Regions from separate parts of the Homo sapiens genome. Here all the other regions are linked to region 2. Evidence: promoter capture Hi-C in 16 types of primary human blood cells and fetal thymus (Javierre and others, 2016). All regions are on one chromosome and are shown on one strand. The core of a region is centred on a gene start or on the middle of the fragment in contact, and the rest is flanking DNA. Distances in the headings are between cores, read along the strand shown. Region 1 has its middle 6.6 kb from the start of APOL1. Region 2 holds the start of EIF3D (eukaryotic translation initiation factor 3 subunit D). Region 3 overlaps APOL3 (apolipoprotein L3). Region 4 has its middle 17 kb from the start of APOL4. Region 5 holds the start of APOL3 (apolipoprotein L3).

What was found. The method cuts DNA at HindIII sites, captures the fragments that hold promoters and counts their contacts. A CHiCAGO score of 5 or more calls a contact.
Region 1: a fragment that was not itself captured here is called in contact with the fragment with the promoter of EIF3D in region 2 in 1 of 17 cell types (neutrophils); the score reaches 5.0 in neutrophils.
Region 3: a contact is called between a fragment that was not itself captured here and the fragment with the promoter of EIF3D in region 2, in 1 of 17 cell types (activated CD4 T cells). The highest score is 5.6, in activated CD4 T cells.
Region 4: a contact is called between a fragment that was not itself captured here and the fragment with the promoter of EIF3D in region 2, in 1 of 17 cell types (neutrophils). The highest score is 5.3, in neutrophils.
Region 5: a fragment that was not itself captured here is called in contact with the fragment with the promoter of EIF3D in region 2 in 3 of 17 cell types (naive CD8 T cells, total CD4 T cells and activated CD4 T cells); the score reaches 5.3 in naive CD8 T cells.

The regions. Positions count from the first base shown.
Region 1 is chr22:36,244,414-36,248,628 of GRCh38, forward strand. No RefSeq gene overlaps it. Among named protein-coding and RNA genes, the nearest start is that of APOL1, 6.6 kb to the right of the region's middle. The HindIII fragment of the contact is 1,513 bases long and covers 549-2,061 here.
Region 2 is chr22:36,526,852-36,530,643 of GRCh38, forward strand. It overlaps EIF3D (eukaryotic translation initiation factor 3 subunit D), which reads right to left and starts at 2,315. Exons shown (of 15, transcript NM_003753.4): 1 at 2,225-2,315. RefSeq lists enhancers at 1,826-1,875, 2,186-2,585. The HindIII fragment of the contact is 11,469 bases long and covers 1-3,792 here.
Region 3 is chr22:36,139,709-36,143,645 of GRCh38, forward strand. It overlaps APOL3 (apolipoprotein L3), which reads right to left. Exons shown (of 4, transcript NM_145639.2): 4 at 621-2,350. The coding sequence ends at 1,492. Among named protein-coding and RNA genes, the nearest start is that of APOL3, 19 kb to the right of the region's middle. RefSeq lists enhancers at 1,245-1,746, 1,747-2,246. The HindIII fragment of the contact is 156 bases long and covers 2,312-2,467 here.
Region 4 is chr22:36,216,826-36,220,822 of GRCh38, forward strand. No RefSeq gene overlaps it. Among named protein-coding and RNA genes, the nearest start is that of APOL4, 17 kb to the left of the region's middle. The HindIII fragment of the contact is 2,167 bases long and covers 1,157-3,323 here.
Region 5 is chr22:36,160,190-36,163,875 of GRCh38, forward strand. APOL3 (apolipoprotein L3) reads right to left here and starts at 566. Exons shown (of 4, transcript NM_145639.2): 1 at 480-566. RefSeq lists enhancers at 1,485-2,058, 2,010-2,169. The HindIII fragment of the contact is 2,474 bases long and covers 486-2,959 here.

The DNA.
Region 1 (4,215 bases), core at 55-2,554, 280 kb before region 2:
TTCAAGCCCAGTAGAAATTATTAGAAAATCCATCTGGAAGCTTCTTTCACCCTGTGACCCCTCCCAAATTCTGCTGGCTGCTTTCCCCAAAGGCCTCTGTGAGATACCGCCAGGGATGGTGCCCTGGGCTTGAGCTGGACACTGGGAATGCCTACAGGATTCTTCCCACTTCTGCTTCTACTTTTACATTTTGCATGGTTCTCTGAATCCATTTCAGCTATGGGTAAGGTTAAATCCCTCTCCTGTAATCTGGATTTTCAGATTCCCCAGGGGCGATGTGTGTTTGGAGGCAGATTTTCCCTCCCTCACACTTTGGGAACTCCCAGTTTTTTGCCTGTCTCATAGAATTGGCAAGGAGCATGCCACTTCTTTCAAAGGATCTGTGAATTCTTTCAGTTTTCCTGGTACATTCCTGTGGTGGTTCTTGGCACACATTATTACATGATGTGGGTCTCCACATGCTGTCCGGTCCTTCCAAGTGGGAGCTGCATGTTAGCCCTGTCTCCTATCTGCCATCTTCCTCAGACTTCTAACATTAACTTTTAAAAAGCTTGGTGGGAAGAGACCAGGGCCAAAGTTCTCCTTCTTGGAGATGAAAGCCAAGAAGCACTTCCTTTGGGACAAGTCAGAAAAATCCTGACCAAATCAATGTGTGTTCCTGGCGATTCTGGCCCAGGCCTATTTCCTCCCCATCTGAGGAATTGCACAAACACAGCAGAACCCTTCTGCTGGCCCAGGACATGGAGAGGCTGGAGTGAAGTTGATCAGAGCTGGGATGGATCCTGGCTTCTGTCCCTGCACAGCTGTGGGCCTCTAGGATTATGCCTTGGAGACTGGCATCTGGCGTCTGGCATCTGTCCAATGGGAATAGTAATTCAATCATATAGGAGGATGGTGAAGGCCTTAGAGTGAACTCCAGGTCAAAGGTGGGGGACCAAGTACCATGATCCTGCCGAAAAGTCCAGATAGACCTGGACCAGGGGCAGAACCAGGGGTCAGGATGGGCATAAGTGGGCCTAATTGGAAGGTAAGTAGGAAGGCTGGGACACCAGGGCCAGGACTAGGGTGAGAGGAGGGAGGCACCAAGGACACCAAACGTAAGGAGGTCATTGACTTGCAGAGGACACATGAGTGGGAGAGGGATATTTCTTCCCTCCCTGATTTGATCCCATCAGTGATTGGCATAGTGGGCCGTGAGTGACGGTTTCCCCCACACCAAGCCTGAGAACTGTGAGAACTGTGGAGTTTTTGCGTGCCCTTTGGGACCCTCTTGTGTTCTACATAGAGTAGCCCCTGACCCTGGGAAAGCAGTGTGGCTTAGTGACCACTTCCGGAGTCAGAATGGGTGGCTGCCAATTTTTGTAATTTCAGGGGTTCTGAGGAAACCCATAAGTTGCCAACCAAAGAGGAAAACACTTCGTCTACCATCTTGTCCAAATTCAGGTCTTTTCAGCATTAGCAATTTATATAGATGGTTCTGAAAGTGTCTTGAGTCTTCTAGAGGCTCCATAAAATTGCACATGGCCTTGGCAAGCACAGAGGTGAAGCCATCACTCCTTAGGCATCGATTAGGCTGGTGACATCTGAAAGTGAGACCTGGAAGGTTGGAGGTGCAGGTGGTAGGTCAGGAGGCAGTAAGGTGGCTGGAGAATCCATGTGGACTCTCCAAAACTAATAGCCAGGTCTCCTCCTCCAGTCAACTGGTGCGGTGCTTGGAACCAGTGACCATCAGTCAGAAGGTCAAAGGGCATGAGGCATTGGAAGAGAGCAGATGCCAGGCAAAGTGATCTTGTGTAGGTCTGTTTTTGGTTTTGTTTGAATTCTGAGTACTCAGAGTTACCAAAACTGCAATGTCTGAGGGCACCCTTATCTTTGACACTAACTGCAAATTTAAGGGGATTCCTAAATCCGTCCTTAGATTTTATAATTCACTAGAGGAATTCACGTAACTCACTGAAAACTGTTATTGCATGACTGTGGTTTATCACAGGGAAAAAACACAGGTTAAAATCAGCCTAAGGAAGACACACAGGGCAGAGTCTAGGAGGGTTTCAGGTGTGAAGCTTCGTTGTCCTCAGGAGGCTGCGTTCTCCTGTGTCAATGTGGGACAAAACACATGGGGTGTTGCCAACCAGGGAAGCTCACCCAGTTAAGGAAAAATTCCTGTGAATCACATTAAATCAGGAAGAAAGCCTTTATTCAGGATTGTTGTTACAGGGGAGGGAGACTGAGCCCAGCTCCCAATACAGTAAAGACAGAGGGGGAGTCACAGCCAACACCAGAGTGAGGGGCAGCAGATGGAACAGGACTGACAGGAGGCACCAGAGTCGGGGGTTCATGCTAAACTGGCCTAACAGGATTTTCCCTAAAGGCAGGTCAGACACTCACCCATCAAGGGGCAGGTGAGGAGAGTGATCAGATAGCAAGTGTGCTCAGACAGTAAGAAGGGAGGACCCTCCCTAAACTGACTCGGGGGGATTCTTGCTGAGCCAGGGTTGTGCAGGCCCAGCAAGCACGGGATGGGCATGGAAGGCCAAGGTTGGTGCCTAGAGGAGAAGAGGCTCAGAAGAGCCCAACTGGAGTCTGGTCAAACAGAAAGTCTTTCTCAACCCATGCCTTAGTGTCCAGAGTGTTTGCTGGGGCTTGACCACAGGCTGCACTCATGGCTGACCTGGAGTTTCCAGCCCCTCCCTGAGGTCTCACACCTTTAGTCCCCAGATCCTCTGGTGGTGAGAAGAGATACCCAATAGCCCCAAACCCCCATCATCCATCACATTTGCTATACTGTCCTGTAGCCAAACCACCAGGGAAACAAAGACATTCCTACCAGGCAGGGCATTCCAGGGGCCTGGAGATCACTTCGCAGGGGTAGGGGACAATGGGAAGACCTCTCCTGGGATAAAGTTAATTCTTCACTGCGCAATTGTAGTGCAGTGAAGATTCTATTCCCAGAGGCCGGGGAAGGTTTGCAATTGCTTTGGTGCAGTGGGGCATGGGTAAACTTGCACCTTAGCTATAACAGCAGACAGAACAACCATAGTACAAATACAGGTAGTCAGTTGTGCAACTGTGTATTGGTAGACACAATGACAGCACATCACCGGCTAACCCCACAATATGGGGTGACTACCTGTACAACAATGTCACCAAGCCCTTGGGTTAAGCAATGATACATGGCTGGGTTGGTAGAATAAGTCTCTGCATATGGGTGCCTACCAATCCCCATGGAGATGGAGATGGCTGTGGGCCTGTGTCACCCACCCTTGGCCTTATTTGCCATTCAACTGGACTGGCAGATGCATCTCAGGGCATCCTTAATTGCCACAGTATATAGTTCCCCATTTAGACACGACCCCCAGTAACTGGAAAACGGTAAAAGCTAGAGATTACCAGATATGTGCATACTGGTGGTTCTACCCCTTGGCCATCTTTGCCTCCAAAGTGGCAACTGTAAATGCAGAGCTGCAATTCGTGTGCTGGCTAAACACACAGCTGCAGCCTTCAATGATACTCACCATCGTTTTACACTTCCCAATCAAGAAACCACCCAGATCAGGCATGTTCCTCTGCAAAATCGTATGACCCAAAATCATACAACTGCTGCCCATGGTGGAGCTTGTGCATTAATTAAAACAAAATGTTGTGTATATAGCCCTCATTACTCTCATAACATAACACAGGCTCTGCTGACGTTAGATACCCAGAGTCCAGCCACAGAGTCTTTGTCTTATGATCTTATCACCTCATGGTTTAATCAACTCCCAGACACGTGGAGAAACTTTGTATCTAGCGTAATTGCAATTGCGTTCATAATCCTTTGTTGAGGTTAGTGTTGCTGCTGGGGTGTCTGGCTGCAATGCTCTTCCACAAAACTGGCCCCAGGAAAATCACAGAAAAACAGTGTGATGAGATTGTGAGGGCCATTCAAGGCTATGCAGGGGTGTGGAGAGCATGGTGGGCATGTCCCGTCAGACAGCAATAACTGAAGCATCCCCTAAGAATAACCCTACATTCCTTGGTGAATTTTTGCTCAGTGTTCCAAGGTATGGATCCCGGGAATGGCCAATCCAGATGTTTACATCATACTTATGAAGAACTCTGTTCCTTGGATCAGAGGTTGTGCAAGGAATCAAGACCTTTTGTTTTGGGCTAGGTGGAGGTTTCCTGGCAGAGGTGCTAAGTGGAGGTTGCTCTGGGAAGAATATCATATAACCT
Region 2 (3,792 bases), core at 1,065-3,564:
GTGCTGGGATTACAGGCGTGAGCCACCACGTCCAGCCACCTTAGTCTTTTCCATCTGCAAAATAAACAAGATCCTTGTTCTAAGCACTTTGTATAATGCCACACAAGTATTCAGACTTGCAAAAGTGCATTTATGTATATAGAGTGCTGAGAAAAAAAGATCTTTAAGTATATCCTGAAATTCAATTTTCCTTTCTCATTGTTTCAATTTTCTGCCATCAACGCAAATCCTGTGTGCAGTGCAAGCGGACATAAAGCCAGGCAGAAGAACTGCCAGAGGGCCAAGGAGGTCCCCACAGACCTCAGGCCCAAAGTTGCCATGTTAAATGTTCATGAATACTGCCAGGCACTGTTCTTACTGTTTACCACTCATTCATTCATACAGTCCTGCCAACAATCCTGTGAGGTAGGAGCCAATGTTATCCGCACTCTCCAGATAAGAAAACCAAAGCACAGAGAAATGAAGAAATTGCCCAAAGTTGAAATGCTAGTGGATGAAAAACGTGAACCAAAGCAGTCTGACCCCAGAGTCTGCACTCTGCATAATGCTATAGCCCTCTTGGGAATTAAAAAACCGGCGCTGTATAGCAGATGGCTGCCCGACACTTCTATAAAAAAACCTATGCATTTATCTTCCGTTGTAACCTTCTGAAAATGCTTAGAAGGCGAGTTCCTAGAGGAAAATTCACTACACAAGTATTTCTTGGAGGCCGGGCGCGGTGGCTCACGCCTGTAATCCCAGCACTTTGAGAGGCCGAGGTGGGCGGATCACGAGGTCAGCAGTTCGAGACCAGCCTGGTCAACATGGTGAAACCCAGTCTCTACTAAAAATACAAAAATTAGCTGGGCGTGGTGGCGGGCACCTGTAATACCAGCTACTCAGGAGGCGGAGGTTGCAGTGAGCCAAGATCCTGCCATTACACTCCAGCCTGGGCAACAGAGCAAGACTCCGTCTCAAAAAAACAAAAATCAAATGTTTCTTGGAGGCTGGAGAGCAATCAAAAGAACAGGTATGCTGAACTTAGTAAACTCTCCTCAAAGCCCCATGCTGGGGAGATTGAGGCTTCCTTCAGAGATGACATTTGGGTGACAGCAACACAGGATGAACCTAGAAGTTTCATCTTTCTAATAGAAACTATAGGAAGAGGACAGAAGAAAAAGGGTGGTGGTCTCAGAACAATTTGTATTAAATAAATATTGCTGAGCTCCTACGTGTTAGGCCCTATACCAGATAATTTAACACCATTGACCACCCCCCCACCCCTACTTTAGAGGCAAAAATTTGAAGCTCAGCCTACTCAAGCAGCTGACCTCATCATTTCAAAACAGATTTGATTTCCAGGGTTGCCTGCTGTCAGTCCAGCCTTCTTTCCATTATATTACAGCTGGGCAGCAGCCCGCAAAGATCAGGGGTTTGAGACCGTACATCATAATACCAAGACAACGAGTCTCAAAACACACTTTAAAAAATCGGGTTCTGTCAGAAGCTCAAGAAGGGAAGAGGCCCGAGGCTCGACCTGCATCACCTCCCTGGAAAGCCAGGGATGAGATACCCTGGCTTTAATAAATGTTTTTTTTTTTAAGAGCAGAGCGGAACCAGGAGGAGAAACTGAGCCGCTCAGCAAAAACGAAGTAACAGCTGTACTAGTCACAGGGGCAGGATAGGGAGGTTCCAAGAGGGCACTCAGAAGGGGCTCTGTGGTTGGCAGGCCACTACAGATCATAAGCCGTCCATCGCTGAACAGGGGGTGGGGTAGATTTAAGATCAGAGATCAAATCTACTTCTCTATCCTAGCCTCCAGTTTCACAAAAAAGGAAAGATAACCTATGCACTGTGAATTCCTAAGAACAGGGGCCAAACACCGCTCAGCCTGGTACCCCTAAGACCTCACTCAAAAAGTCAGGGAGTTTTCGGCCACTTCAGAAAGACTTTGTTGTTACCCCTCCGTCTTAACCCAGGTGAGTTAAGTGACAATCAAATTCACCCAGCTCATGGGCACTGAGCAGGGCCGAGGGCCAAGGACCTCACCCACAAGGTCGTGTCCCGCGTTCAGTAGCGTGCGGGACGCGGGGCCCCCGAAAGTGGATTCCTGCCCCGCCCAGCGGAGGGACGGCAACAGCAGGAAGGGACTAAGAGAGGTCTCTTCCGGGAGGCCCCCCGAAGGCTGGACCTAGTCCGAACCGGCTCCGGAGGGCCGCAGGAACCTATGAAACACGCCGCTCACCTGCAATGGCCTCGGCCGGCCGGGATGGCAACAGATGGTGCGTGCCGGGGACCGCGTTAGCAGCAGCACTCTTGAGAAACCAGGAAAAGAGGAAACATGCGCGCGCAGCGGGCGCCGCCGTAAACACGACCGGCGCTGTCGTAAACTGCTCTCCCGCTTCCTCTGGGTTGGGCGGAAGAACTCACGAGCCGTAAAGCGAAGGTCCACCCGGAAATCCGTTACTGCGTTTCGCCAGGCGTCCTCATTAGCCTCCGAGGCGCCGAGACGCGAGAGGTGTGATTGGCACTACGTCAGGCGGTATCCGGGGACGCCCAAAGAGGGCGTTCATCACTGAAACTTGGCGGCCGCGCAATCGAAGCTCGAGGCGGGGAGCGACTGGCGCCCTTCTGTGTCCCACAATGCTTCGCGGCGCGCCTCAGCCCCCATGTATCCCACCGTCACCCGCGACTCCCCGCCTGTTCTACCTGCCTGCTTAATGTGAAACTCAGCGCAGGGGAGGTCCGTCGGTGTCTTAGGCGGTCCTTATTGTTACTCCTCCGCCTTTATAGTTGTGGAAACTGAGGCTCAGAAGTGCCAAGTGACCTGCCTAGATCAGACTGTTAGTTTAGGGTTCTAACCGCCAGAGTTCAAACCATACTTCCGCAGTTCTCAAACTTAATTGTAGGACAGGGATTTCTGGAACAGTGTTTTTATTTATTTTTATTTATTTTTTGAGACAGGGTTTCGCTCTGTCGCCCAGGCTGAAATGTAGTGGCAGGATCACGGCTTATTGCACCCTCGACTTCTCAGGTACAAGCGATCCTCCCAGTTCAGCCTCCCGAGTCGTTGGTGTACACAGGCACGCACAACCACGCCTGCCTAATTTTTGTATTTTTGGTAGAGATGGGGTTTTGCTATGTTGCTCAGGCTGGTCTCAAACTCCTGAGCTCAACAGTCCACCCACTGGGGCTAGGGTTACAGGCATGAGTCACCGTACCCGGCCAGCTAATGATTTTTAAAAATTTTGTAGAGACAGCGTCTCACTATGTTGCCCGGGCTGGTCTTTAACTCCTGGTCTAAAGTGGTCCTCTCGCCTCAGCGTGCGGAGCAGCTGAGGCTACAGGTGCATGCCACCATGCCTGGCTAATTTTTTTTTTTAGACGGAGTCTTGCTCTGTCTTCCAGGCTGGAGTGGAGTGCAGTGGCGCTATCTCAGTTCACTGCAACCTCCGCATCCCAGGTTCAGGTGATTCTCCTGCTTCAGTCTCCCGAGTAGCTGGGATTGCAGGCGTGTACCAACATGCCCGGCTAATTTTCCTTTTAGTAGAGACGGGGTTTCACCTTGCTGACCAGGCTGGTCTCGAACTCCTGACCTCAGGTGATCTACCCACCTCGGCCTCCCAAAGTGCTAGGATTACAGGCGTGAGCCACTGCGTCCGGCTGCCTGGCTAATTAAAAAAAAAAAAAAAAACTTCTGTGGAGACGAAGTCTCATCATGTTGCCAAGGCTAGTCTCAAACTCCTGGGCTCAAGCAGTCCTCCTGTCTCGGTCTCCCAAAGTGCTGGGATTACGGGCGTGAGCCACCACACC
Region 3 (3,937 bases), core at 1,140-3,639, 390 kb before region 2:
ATCTCCTCAATGCACCACAAAGTTCCTTGATTGGTTCCTGGCATCTGGTTTTGCTTTTCTCTTCCTTGTTTTTTTTTGGGGGGGGGACGCGGGGGATGGAGTCTCGCTCTGTCTCCCAGACTGGAGTGCATTGGCGCCATCTCGGCTCACTGCAACCTCCTCCTCTTGAGTTCAAGCAATCCGCCTGCCTCAGCCTCCTTAGTAGCTAAGATTACAGGCACCCACCACCATGCCCAGCTAATTTTTGTATTTTTAGTAGAGAAGGGGTTTCACTGTGTTGTCCTGGCTGGTCTCCAACTACTGACCTCAGGTGATCCACCCGCCTCGGCCTCCCAAAGTGCCAGGATTACAGGCCTGAGCCACCGTGCCCAGCCTCCTTTTATTTTTCTTCACAAATCAATGACTTTTCCAATACAGAATTTGGAGTTTCATTGGAATGTCATCGTTCCCTCAGTGTATCCTGGCCCCAAGCAGGGCTGACATTTGTCAAGTCCTCCTGCTGTCTGCTGACATCATCACCATCACCTTTACCACTGTTCAGACAAAAACTTCAGACAGGAACTTGCTCCCAAAGCGAGAAAGGAGCCAGGAGACCAAGGAATGACTCGAATAAGTCCAGCTTGGTGAGTAGGTGAGTTTATTAGGACTTACACACAGGGCACTCAGCAGGATGGCTCTAGAGATCCGGCCTCCCCCAGTCTCTAAACTGCTTTTCAGTTAATTTTCTGTCTCTTTGCCTGCTGTATATGAGTAATGAGACTGTTTTTCTTGGTAGGTTCTCGCATACTCTCCAGGATGTTTGGGTTTTTAGAGACACCTGGTCCTCAGCTGGGGACAATGGCCATGGCTCATTACCTGGCCTTCAGGGTTCAAGCAGGGGACATATACCCCTAAATAACCTAAAGGGGATCCATCACACTACAACCACCACCTCCACCGCCATCATCAAGAAGCCACTGGCTGACTGAGATACACTTCCAGGAGGACAAGACAGAGTGGATGCTGGAAAGACAGGGCAGGGGACCATCACCAGGGAAAGACTTCATTCTTGGAAGGACATCGAACCGGGGGCAGGTCGGTAGTGGAGCCGCTGTTTCTTCTGCTGTATCCAAAAGTTCTAACTCTTCGGCTTTCTGCATTTTCAGCTCTTTCTTTTCCTGGCCTTCTCATTGCTGGTTCCTGCACACCTCCCCTCTATTCCTCCCCCCAATATATTCGTTAGTCTAAAGGAAATTTCTTCTTCCTATTCCCCACACTCTCCAGTCCCCTCTCCTCCCTTATTCCAGGCTCCAGCATTCCTGCCTTCTCCTTGGTGCACTTGCCATCTGCATTAACCCCTCCCCTGCTGTGCTCAGCTACAGAAATGCCAAAGTCACTAACACTCAGCTCCATAAACTTTACCTTGCCCTCTTTATCCCCCTAATAAAATGCCTGCATTTTGTCGTGGCCTGTGTATGGCTCACCTCCCCTGCTGGCTGCACTGGTCTGGGGTCAGTGGGTATGGCATGGATTCAGACGCTGATAGATCTGAGTGAGCTCCATTAGATTCTCCTCCAGCTCCTGAGCCTGCCGCCTCAGCTCCTCAGCAGATGCAGACTTTGCCCCCTCATGCAAGTGCTTTGACTCGTATACAAGGTTGACCACATCCAGTGCAAGGAAGATGCCTGAAGTGGTCGCACTCAGGATCCGGGCTCCTCTGCTCACTGCCCGGGTGGTGCCTGCAATCGTTCTCTCTGCTTGACCACCACTTCCAGCTGAGATTCGCCAGGTGGTCACAGGGAGTCGGGCCCTGGCTCTGGCTTGCCTGATGGCACGGATTTCACTCCCAATGGTTTGTGTGGCTTCGTAATAATTATTAAGAAGGGAAAGTAAGTTGGGTGTGATGTCACGCATAACTTCCTTAAATACCTTCAATCGGTCAATGCTGGTTGCAGTCAGCCTGCTGGCTTCAGCTTCTGCTGATGATGTGTATGAGTGCTCCACGATGCTGGTGGTGATCCCAGTCACAGCAGACGCTGCTCCCAGCCCTACCCCAGCTGCAGTAAGGGCCAGACTCGTCCCTGCTGTAAATGGTGCCAAAACAAGACCAGCAAGGGACATGATGCCAGAGGCAGCGCCAGTGGAGCTGGACACCACATTGGAGATGGTGCAGCCTCTGTGGACCTCTTCAATACCATTTGCAAGGGCACGAAGCTTTTCTATGGACTCCTGGATCTTCCTCTTGACTTGGGGAAACTCTTTCAAAAACCATTCCCTAAACTGCTCATCTTTCTGCTGCACATATTCGTCCTCAATAGCTGCATATGTTCTAAGCTTCTTCAGAGCTTCGTAGAGAGCATCTGCCTCATCCCTGTACCAATAAAGGACAGATGATTAAGAAAGGCAGCTTACTTATCTGTAAAATCAGCTCAATAAGATCTGTTCTACATAAATCACAGAGCTATTACTATGAGTCAAATGGAAATAAAGCTTTAAATTTTAAATGGAAAAATTTAAAATAATTTTTCCAAGGTTAAACATGTTTTGTATATCATAGATATGCCACAGTACTTATTCTGTATGGGAATAAAAAACTTAAAGTCATCTTCAGATGCTCTTTAGTGGTAGGTATTCGATAAAGATGGCTCCTCAAGCAAGAGAGGTCAACATCATCCCTCCAATAGTGTGTGGAGAGGGGAAATTTTGTAGATGAACAAAGAGAAGTGGGTTCGGAGCAAAAAGACCTTCATTCAGAGGATCATAGAACAGTGAAGGATTAACTTTATTAGAAGAGAGGTCGTTCTTTTGTCTTTGGGCCCTGGGAAGGGATCTCTGGGGCCCTGGAATGTCCTGCCTGGTAGGAACATCTTTGTTTCCCTGGTGGTTTGGCTACAGCACAGTATAGCAATGTTATGGGTGATGGGTTTTGGGGCTATTACGTATCTTTTCTGCCTTCCAAAGGAACTGGGAACTAAGGGTGTTAGACCTCAGGGAGGGGCTGGGGACTCCATGTCAGCCATCAGGACAGCTTGTGATCCAGCCCCAGAAAGAGCTCTGTACATTGAGGCATAGGTTGAGAAAGACTTTCTCCTTGGCCAAACTCCAGTCAGGCTGCTCTGAGCCTTTTCTCCTCTAGGCGCTGACCTTCCATGCCCATCCCGTGCTTGCTGGGCCTGTACTGCCCCAGTTCAGCAAGAATCCCCCAAGGCAGTTAGGGAGGGTCCTCCCCACTTGCTGTCTGAGCATTCTTGCTGTCTGATCACGGTCTTCACCCGCTCCTTACCTGCCTTTAGTTGAGCAGCTTGTTAGGCCAGTTTAGCAGAAACCCCCCATTCTGGTGTCTCCAGTCAGAACTGGTCCATCTCCCACTCCTCACCCTGGTGTTGGCTGTGACTCCCCCTCTGTCTTTACTATATTGGGAGCTGGGCTCAGTCTCCCTCCCCTGTAACACAATCCTGAATAAAGGCTTCCTGATCTAATGTGATTCACAGGAATTTTTCCTTAACTGGGTGAGCTTCTCTGGTTGGCAACACCCCATGTGTTTTGTCCCACATTCACACAGGAGAACACAGCGTCCTGAGGACAACGAAGCTTCACACCTGAAACCCTCCCAGACTCTGCCCTGTGTGTCTCTTCCTTAGGCTGATTTTAATCTGTGTTCTTTCCCTGTGATAAACCACAATCGTGCAATAACAGTTATCAGTGAGTTACGTAAGTCTTTGTAGTGAATTATCAAACCTGAGTGGGGGCTTAAGAAACACCTTCAAATCTGCAACTGGTGTCAGAAGGAAGGGTGCCTTCAGACATTGCATTTTGACTAACTCTGAGTCCTTAAGCTATCAAATAAAACCTCAGACTGGAAGAGATCACCTTGCCTGGCATGTTCTCTCTTCCAATGCCACATGCCCTTTGATCTTCTGACTGAAGGCCACTGGGTCCAGCCACTGCCCCCTTTGAC
Region 4 (3,997 bases), core at 990-3,489, 310 kb before region 2:
TTTGTGTGATTTTGCCTTTCACTGATCCTTCTCCCCTCCATGGATAGCTATTGATTTCTGTCTTCTTTCTGTGGGGGACATAGAGGGAATTTTTATCTTTGTGTATAGGAGATCAGCTATTCTGTATCTTAAAAACAAACAAAAAAACACCTCCCTGCCACCTCCTGGAAGATCCCTCGGGCGCCCATGGTTAAGTCACAACCTTACTTCAGGCTTATTGGTTTCACTAGGAAGGTTGCCTTTGGTAGAATTCAAACACCAGAAATATCACCTGTATGTCCTGGCTAACATCTGGTAGTAAGAGGTGTGAAAGGATTTTTTCAGAGCTCTAAAGTCACAAGTCAACTTCACTGAAACTGATATTAAGGCTGTGTATGTATATATGTATCTATCTATCTATTTATTGAGAGAGAGAGAGTAGTTATGGCCATTATTCTCTCTCTATGTCTCAGTCACCTCAATTCTGTCTGTTTCTCTGTTTACTTCTGTCTTTCCCTCCTTCCTCTTGCCACCCTCCATGCAATCAAGAGAGGACCTACAGTAGTTTCTAACAGCTGAGATCCTTTGGGAAAAACAGAAAAAAGCACCAGAGTCCCTGCTGGGGAGGAACCTCTGTTTTCCTCATGCGACCTCAAGAGTTGGAAGTGGACAGATTCCTGGCAAATTCAAAACTGTTCTCTTCTATCCTAAGGCATATCTCTGTTTAAAGTTCTTTTCCTGGACCTCTTAACTAAAATTTGCTTATATCGTTTTGTAATCAGGCAGCTTAACTTCAAACTGCATTTTAAACTGGGTTTTCCTTCTTCTTTGGTTTCCAGATTTAACCTTGAAGCAAACTGCAGAAGCCTTTTTTCTTAGACTTAAAATAGAGTCCATGCCCCTCCCTTTCTCACCATATATACCCCCTATATTTATCTAAGTTTGTGCTAGTGTCTAATCATGTGCTTTCTCAGAAGTTCCATAGGTTAATCTTGAGACACACAGGCCAAGCCTGGAGACCCAGCTACAAATTTCCAGAGAGTACTCAAGGCAGCTAGTTAGCAATCCAGCCATCGTTGAGATGACGCCAGCCCAAGATCCAGGTGGACTGGGACCCAGGAGAGCCACAGGGACAGGACATACACACATACACAATTCTAGCATGCTGTCCTTATCAAGCTTTCCTTTTTAAGCCCCGGCCTTTACCCAAAAACATCAAACTGGTTTCTTTCTTTCTTTTTTTTTTTTTCCAGTGAAAAGTTTCATTTTTTCCTTCAGCTGTTATTTTAAGTTCCGGGTACATGTGCGGGATGTAAGGTAAATGTGTGCCATGGTCCTTTGCTGCACAGATCAACCCATCACCGAGGTATTAAGCCTAGCATCCATTAGCTATTCTTCCTGATCCTCTCCCTCCCCCTGCGCCAACAGGCCCCAGTATGTGTTGTTCCCCTTGATGTGTCCCTGCGTTTTCATCATTCAACTCCCACTTATAAATGAGAACATATGGTATTTGATTTTCTGTTCCTGCATTAGTTTGCTGAGAATGACAGCTTCCAGCTCCGTTTATGTGCCTACAAAAGACATGGTCTCATTCCATTTTATGGCTGCAGAGTATTCCACAGGGTATATGTACCACATTTTCTTTATCCAGTCTATCATTGATGAGTATTTGGGTTGATTCCATGTCTTTGCTATTGTGAATAGTGCTGTAGTGAACATACATATGCATGTATCTTTACAACAGAGTGATTTATATTTCTTTGGGTATATACCCAGCAGAGGAATTGCTGGGTCAAAGGGGTTTCTTGGACAAATTGCCACCCTGTCTTCCACAATGGTTGAACTAATTTACACTCCCACCAACAAAGTAAAAGTGTTTCTTTTTCTCCACAACCTCGCCAGCATCGGTTGTTTCTTGACTTTTTAATGATTGCCATTCTGACTGGCATGAAATAGTATCTCATTGTGGTTTTGATTTGCATTTCTCTAATGGTCAGTGATGTTGAGCTTTTTTTCATGTTTGTTGGCCGTATGAATGTCTTATTTTGAGAACTGTCTGTTCATGTCCTTTGCCCATTTTATAATGGAGTTGTTTGGTTTTTTTTTCTTGCTAATTTGCTTATGTTCCTTGTAGACTCTGAATATTAGACCTTTGTCATATGGAGAGATTGCAAAAGTGATTGCTTTCCAAGGGAATCCAGCCACTTCCCCTTTACTCGTTTTGGTTAATAAAAACACTTTCTTTCTAGCAGACCTCGCTCTTGTTAATTGGATGATCCAGGTGGGGAGCATCCAGACCTGCGTTCGCTTCCAGTTGTTTTTCTTCCCTTGGTTTAAGCAAAATGATACAATATTTAGGCCAAATGTTTTAGTTCTACTTTGAGATGTAAAATCTCTATCTGATGTCACCTAAGATTTGTTCCTTTAGAGTGCGAACTTTGGGCCATCTGGCTGACAATTGCTGAGGCAATAAAACAGGTTATCAAGAAATTGGTGGGCTGGGCGTGGTGGCTCACACCTGTAATCCCAGCACTTTGGGAGGCAGAGGTGGGCAGATCACAAGGTCAGGAGATCGAGACCACCCTGGCTAACACGGTGAAATGCCGTCTCTACTAAAAATACAAAAAATTAGCCGGGCGTAGTGACAGGTGCCTGTAGTCCCAGCTACTCAGAGGGTGAGGCAGGAGAATGGTGTGAACCCAGGAGGCGGAGCCTGCAGTGAGCCAAGATGGCACCACTGCACTCCAGCCTGGGCGACAGAGTGAGACTCTGTCTCAAAAAAAAAGAAAGAAGGAAAGAAAGAAAGAGATAAAGAAAGAAAGAGAGAGAGAGAGAGAAAGAAAGAGAGAGAGAGAGAGAAAGAAAGAAAGAAAGAAAGAAAGAAAGAAAGAAAGAAAGAAAGAAAGAAAGAAAGAAAAAAAAAGAAAGAAAGAAATTAGTAATCTAAAGTGGGGGAGAAAAATTTGGAAAAGTGACAAATAAAAAATCTTACAAATCTACAGGATCTGGGTCTGTACGCATCTCTGTGTGTCTATGTATTTATATGTGTTATAGGTATATAATATTTCCCCATCAAAATATATAGAAGGGTCTAATTAATTGGCTTGCCAAAAAAAGCACTTAAATCCAATATTTTATCAGAAAAATAGAAACTTTCATTTGAATAGCATTCACTTCATGTGACTTTAATAATCTTTGCTAGAGACAGTTTAAAAATTATTGGTAAAATAGAAATGTCTTCAAAACTTAATTTAGATATCTGGGCTGAATTAGTCAAGCAGGTCAGATACTATTGTCTGCTAGATGTATTAGGATAAAAAAGTTTGCTTCTGTAATACTTTTAAAGCTTGCTTATCTCATCTGTAAACCTATGTGTCTTGAGAATCAAGCCTTTGGACTAACCCCAGGCATTGCCCTTCATCCTGGGATACGCATCTGGTGCATAATTAAAACTGTTTACCTCCTAGATTCTTCAATAAAAATAAGAGTTACCAAGAGTTCACATTACAATTAATGTATGTAATTAAAACATTACATCTATTGCTGCCTAGACCACCTTCTGGCTATACACAAAGTGTATTGTGATGGTTAATATGAGGTGTGAACATCACTAGACGGAGGAATGCCTAGATGGCTGGTAAAGGATTGTTTCTGGGCGTGTCTGTGAGGGTGTTGTCAAAGGAGATTGACATTTGGGTCCGTGAACTAAGAGAAGAAGACACACCCTGAATGTGGGCAGTACCATCCCATCAGCTGCCAGTGAGGCCAGAACAAAGCAAGCAGAAGAGAAAAGGGTGAGCAGCTTGCTCATCACTCTCTCTGTCTTCCCGTGCTGGATGCTTCCTTCCTCTCCTCCTGCCCTTGGACATCAGACTTCCTGGTCTTTGGCCTTTGGACTCTGGGACTTGCACCAGCGGCCTCCTGGAGGATTACAGGGCTTCATCCTAAGACCGAGACCTACGCAGTCGGCTTCTCTGGTTTTGAGGCTTTTAGACTTGGACTGAGTCACACTACGGGC
Region 5 (3,686 bases), core at 473-2,972, 370 kb before region 2:
TTGTATCTCAAAGGAAATCCTCTGTCCCCATCGGGCCTCAGCAGCAGCACCCTGGGGCCAGCCTCAGGGTGGCCAGGCCACAAGAAGGACAGGCCAGGCTCTGGATCACCTCCTGTCCTCCACCTTCTCTGGTTCCTCCAAATATTCTAAAGGAATGGACAGTCCCAACATCTGCCTTCCTTCTGGGGTCACCGGGCCATGTCTCACGCAGGCTGGAACTAGAGCTGAGCCCTAGGAAGCTTTGTGAACCCAGCTGAGCTGATTCTGCCTCTGTCTCTACTGTTTGGGGGCCCAGAGAGAGGGAGGGAGAAGTCCAGCTAAAACCTGGGTGCAAATTCAGGCTCTGCCATGGACCGAGATGTGACCTCAGTCAGTTACCTAACCTCTCTGAGCTCATCTACAAAAGGTGAATGACCCTTCTCTTATAGAGCTGCTGTGAGGATGGGGAGATGGGGAAGGTCAGACCACCCCTAACTTACCAAGGAAGCTTCTCTTGAAAGAGTGTGAGCAAGATCCAGCTGTTCTGAGCTGTGTGGATCCCACCTCCAGCCGTGCATCTGCATAATAACCAGACACGTTCTCCAGGCTCTGAGATATACCCTGGAACCCAAAAGGGAAAGTGAAAGTCACAACTTGGCAGCAGCTCCTGATCAAACATGCAAAACAGGATGCTTCCCAGCCCCACCCTTGGCCCAGTCCCATCCTTGGTCCAGCAGCACCCTTGGTCCCACCCTCCTGCTGATCCAAGAGCAGCCCCAGACGTCCTTCTTGGCCAACCCACCTGCCTCCCATACTTAGGGTTGGGGGTTTGCTGTGTCTTCAGGAAGAAAGACCTACCACTGAAAGACTATGAGACCCTCCAGATTACTCCCCACCCCCAATAACACCACACTCCCCAGATGCCCACCTCACTCCCTCCATGCCATCAGCATTACCACAGTCCATCACACATGCCGGGTGGACGCTTATTGCATATTGATTGTATTGCTGTTGGGGTTATTTTGTTGTTTTGTTTTGTTTTGTTTTTGAGATGGGGTCTGGCTCTGTCACCCAGGCTGGAGTGCGGTGGCACAATAATAGCTCACTGTAGCCTCAAATTCCAGGGTTCAAATGAACCTCCTGAGTAGCTGGGACTACAAGCATGAGCCACTCGGCCTGGCTACTTTTAAAAAATGATTTTGAAGGGGTGAAATCTTACTATTTTTACCAGGTTGGTTTCAAACTCTGGCCTCAAATGATCCTCCTGCCTCAGCATGAGCCACCGTTCCAGACCTGCTCTTGTCGAACGCCATACCTGTGTGGCTTCTGGACACTTCCTTATGTGGGTTCTTCTGCCAGGAGCACCTGCTACCTTCACCTGGAAAAGTCACGCTCCTCTATCAGAATGCAAATCTAGCATTTCCTCCCCTGAGAAGCCCCCTAGCATCCTCTTCAGCAGAGCCCACTGCCCCATGTTCCACTCCTGTGGCACTTTTGTTAGGCTGTTGTAATTGGCCACAGTCCCAGGTTGACTGAACAAAGTGGGGGGCGGATGTGGGAGTAAAAGACAAAGACAAAAGAGTATATTAGGAAGAAGGGGTCAGGGGGTTCCTTGCTTCTAGTGAACAAGGGCTCTGAGCTTTTCAAGCTCTCTGAGTTTATTAGGTAAAAGAGATGACGAGAAAAAGGTGGGGGGGTGATTGTCAGGTAATTGTCAGTCAGCCGTTTGGTTCACAGCAGGCTTGCAAGACTGCATCCTTCAAATAATAGGTGCTAGATATCCCAACAGATAACTTCAAGGAGCCCAGCACCAGGGAGTGATGGCCCTCAGGAAACCTTCTGGCGGCGGGTGCAGTGTGAGTTTACCCACATCCCGCATTCATGATAAACAGTTTGCTGTTTGATCATATAGCCTCCAGTGAAATGCTGAGTTGGTCACAATCCCTTTGGCCTTTTCAGCTCCCAACAGGCAGTTAAGTAGACATTAGCAGCTGGGAGGAGAAAAGAGAGCAGAAAGCCTGTCACTGCAACAGCTCCTGGCCCACCTAAGTTCAGCCCCAGAGCCATTCTAAGACCCCCCTAACTGATGAAGTTGGTGGTATAGTTTGTGGCCAGCACATCCTGAAGAAAGAGAAACTAGGGCACAGGTGGAAATTCCCTAAAGGGGCACATGCCCAGTAACATGAAACTGTGCCCTCAGGTCACCCCAAGTTCATTATACCATCATTATAATAAAATGTGGTTTTATTATACAAAAGCCCCAGAGTGGGCTTTTCTGTGAAAATTATGGGTAAAAACATGCATTGCCTAATTTTAGTTATATAACCATAAACTGCCAATCAGATGACATCGTCCTTTACTCAGACACAGCCCCAACCTCAACTTCTCTCCACAAACCGCACAGAAGCACCTTAAACTCTATATAGAGGGGCTGACTTCACTTCACAGAAATTAGCCCACTGTCCCTCTGAGAGTGTCTAACTGTGCTTCAATACACTTTGCTTTGAGCTTGCATTTTGGAGTTAGCCTGCAATTGTTTGCTCACTCTCAGAAGAACTGAGATTACTGGTCCAGAACTCCAGCTCTGTTAATCTCCTCAGTTAAAGGATCCATCCCAGCGCAGAATTCCTGGTAATATCTTAGTGCTGTGACCTGGATGATTTACGTTCAGCATGGCTTTTAATATGTGCTTGATTTTAGCTTGGGGAACTGAAACATATTTTGCTAAAATGCTTCCTTTCGCTTTGGGTCAAGATGTTTGTGCTATGTTTCGCTGCTTGGCTAAGAGAAGTTGCAATGAGTGTTGTATTTGCTGCATTAGAGAGGGGGTATATCCCCCAACATGCCACCAATAACTTTTAGAGAAGGGCTTAGAGAAATCTTCTCTGGATTTAGGTTTAATTAGCTGTTTAACGTGATTAAACAACTTCATTAGGTTGTAGTGGCCATTGAAGCCCAGAGCTTGTTAACAGCCCAGGGAAGCTTTGAGAGGCAAAATGGTTTCTTATGCTCTGGCCACAGAGCCAGGAATCACCCTCAACTCCCTTTAGACTGGGCATTTTGGCTGGATGCAATTTTTAAAATTACTGATTAAGAGAGCCGATTGGGATTCAGATCATGGGATAGCTTGGATAAATGCTAAGTTTAGAGGTTTACAGCCGGGAACGAAGGGTAGGCCCATAGTGGGTCATAACCTTTGGAGAACTCCCCAAATCGTCCTCGCCCACCCTTTTGGGCACTCACCCCACCCGAGGCCCCCTCCCTGCCACACTGCCATAGGCAGCAGCACAGCTTCTGAAGATCGTTTTGCAATTTTTTTTCCTTTTTCTTTTGAACAGAGCTTCATTTCTTTTCTTTCTTTCTAACCACTTTTATTCAGAATCTAGGGGACAAATGTTTTCAGCAAGGCTGTAGTACCCACTGTAGGAAGGGGTCTCCATGCTGGGCACAGCCATGGTCCACACATAGGTACAACTTGAGAGACACACAGACTGCCCCAGGGGAGGCGGAGCCTCCATCTAAAGAGCAGGGGACACTCTCTCCTGGTAATGGTCAAGGATATTGGGATGTCGAGACTACCTTGATCTCAGTGCTGTGTATTCTGGATTGCCAGCTGCATCCACACTCCTATGTAAAACCACAGAGGGCTGCCCAAACTGATGATGTCTCCACAGACAAATACACTTGTGAGACTTTAGTGGACCTCA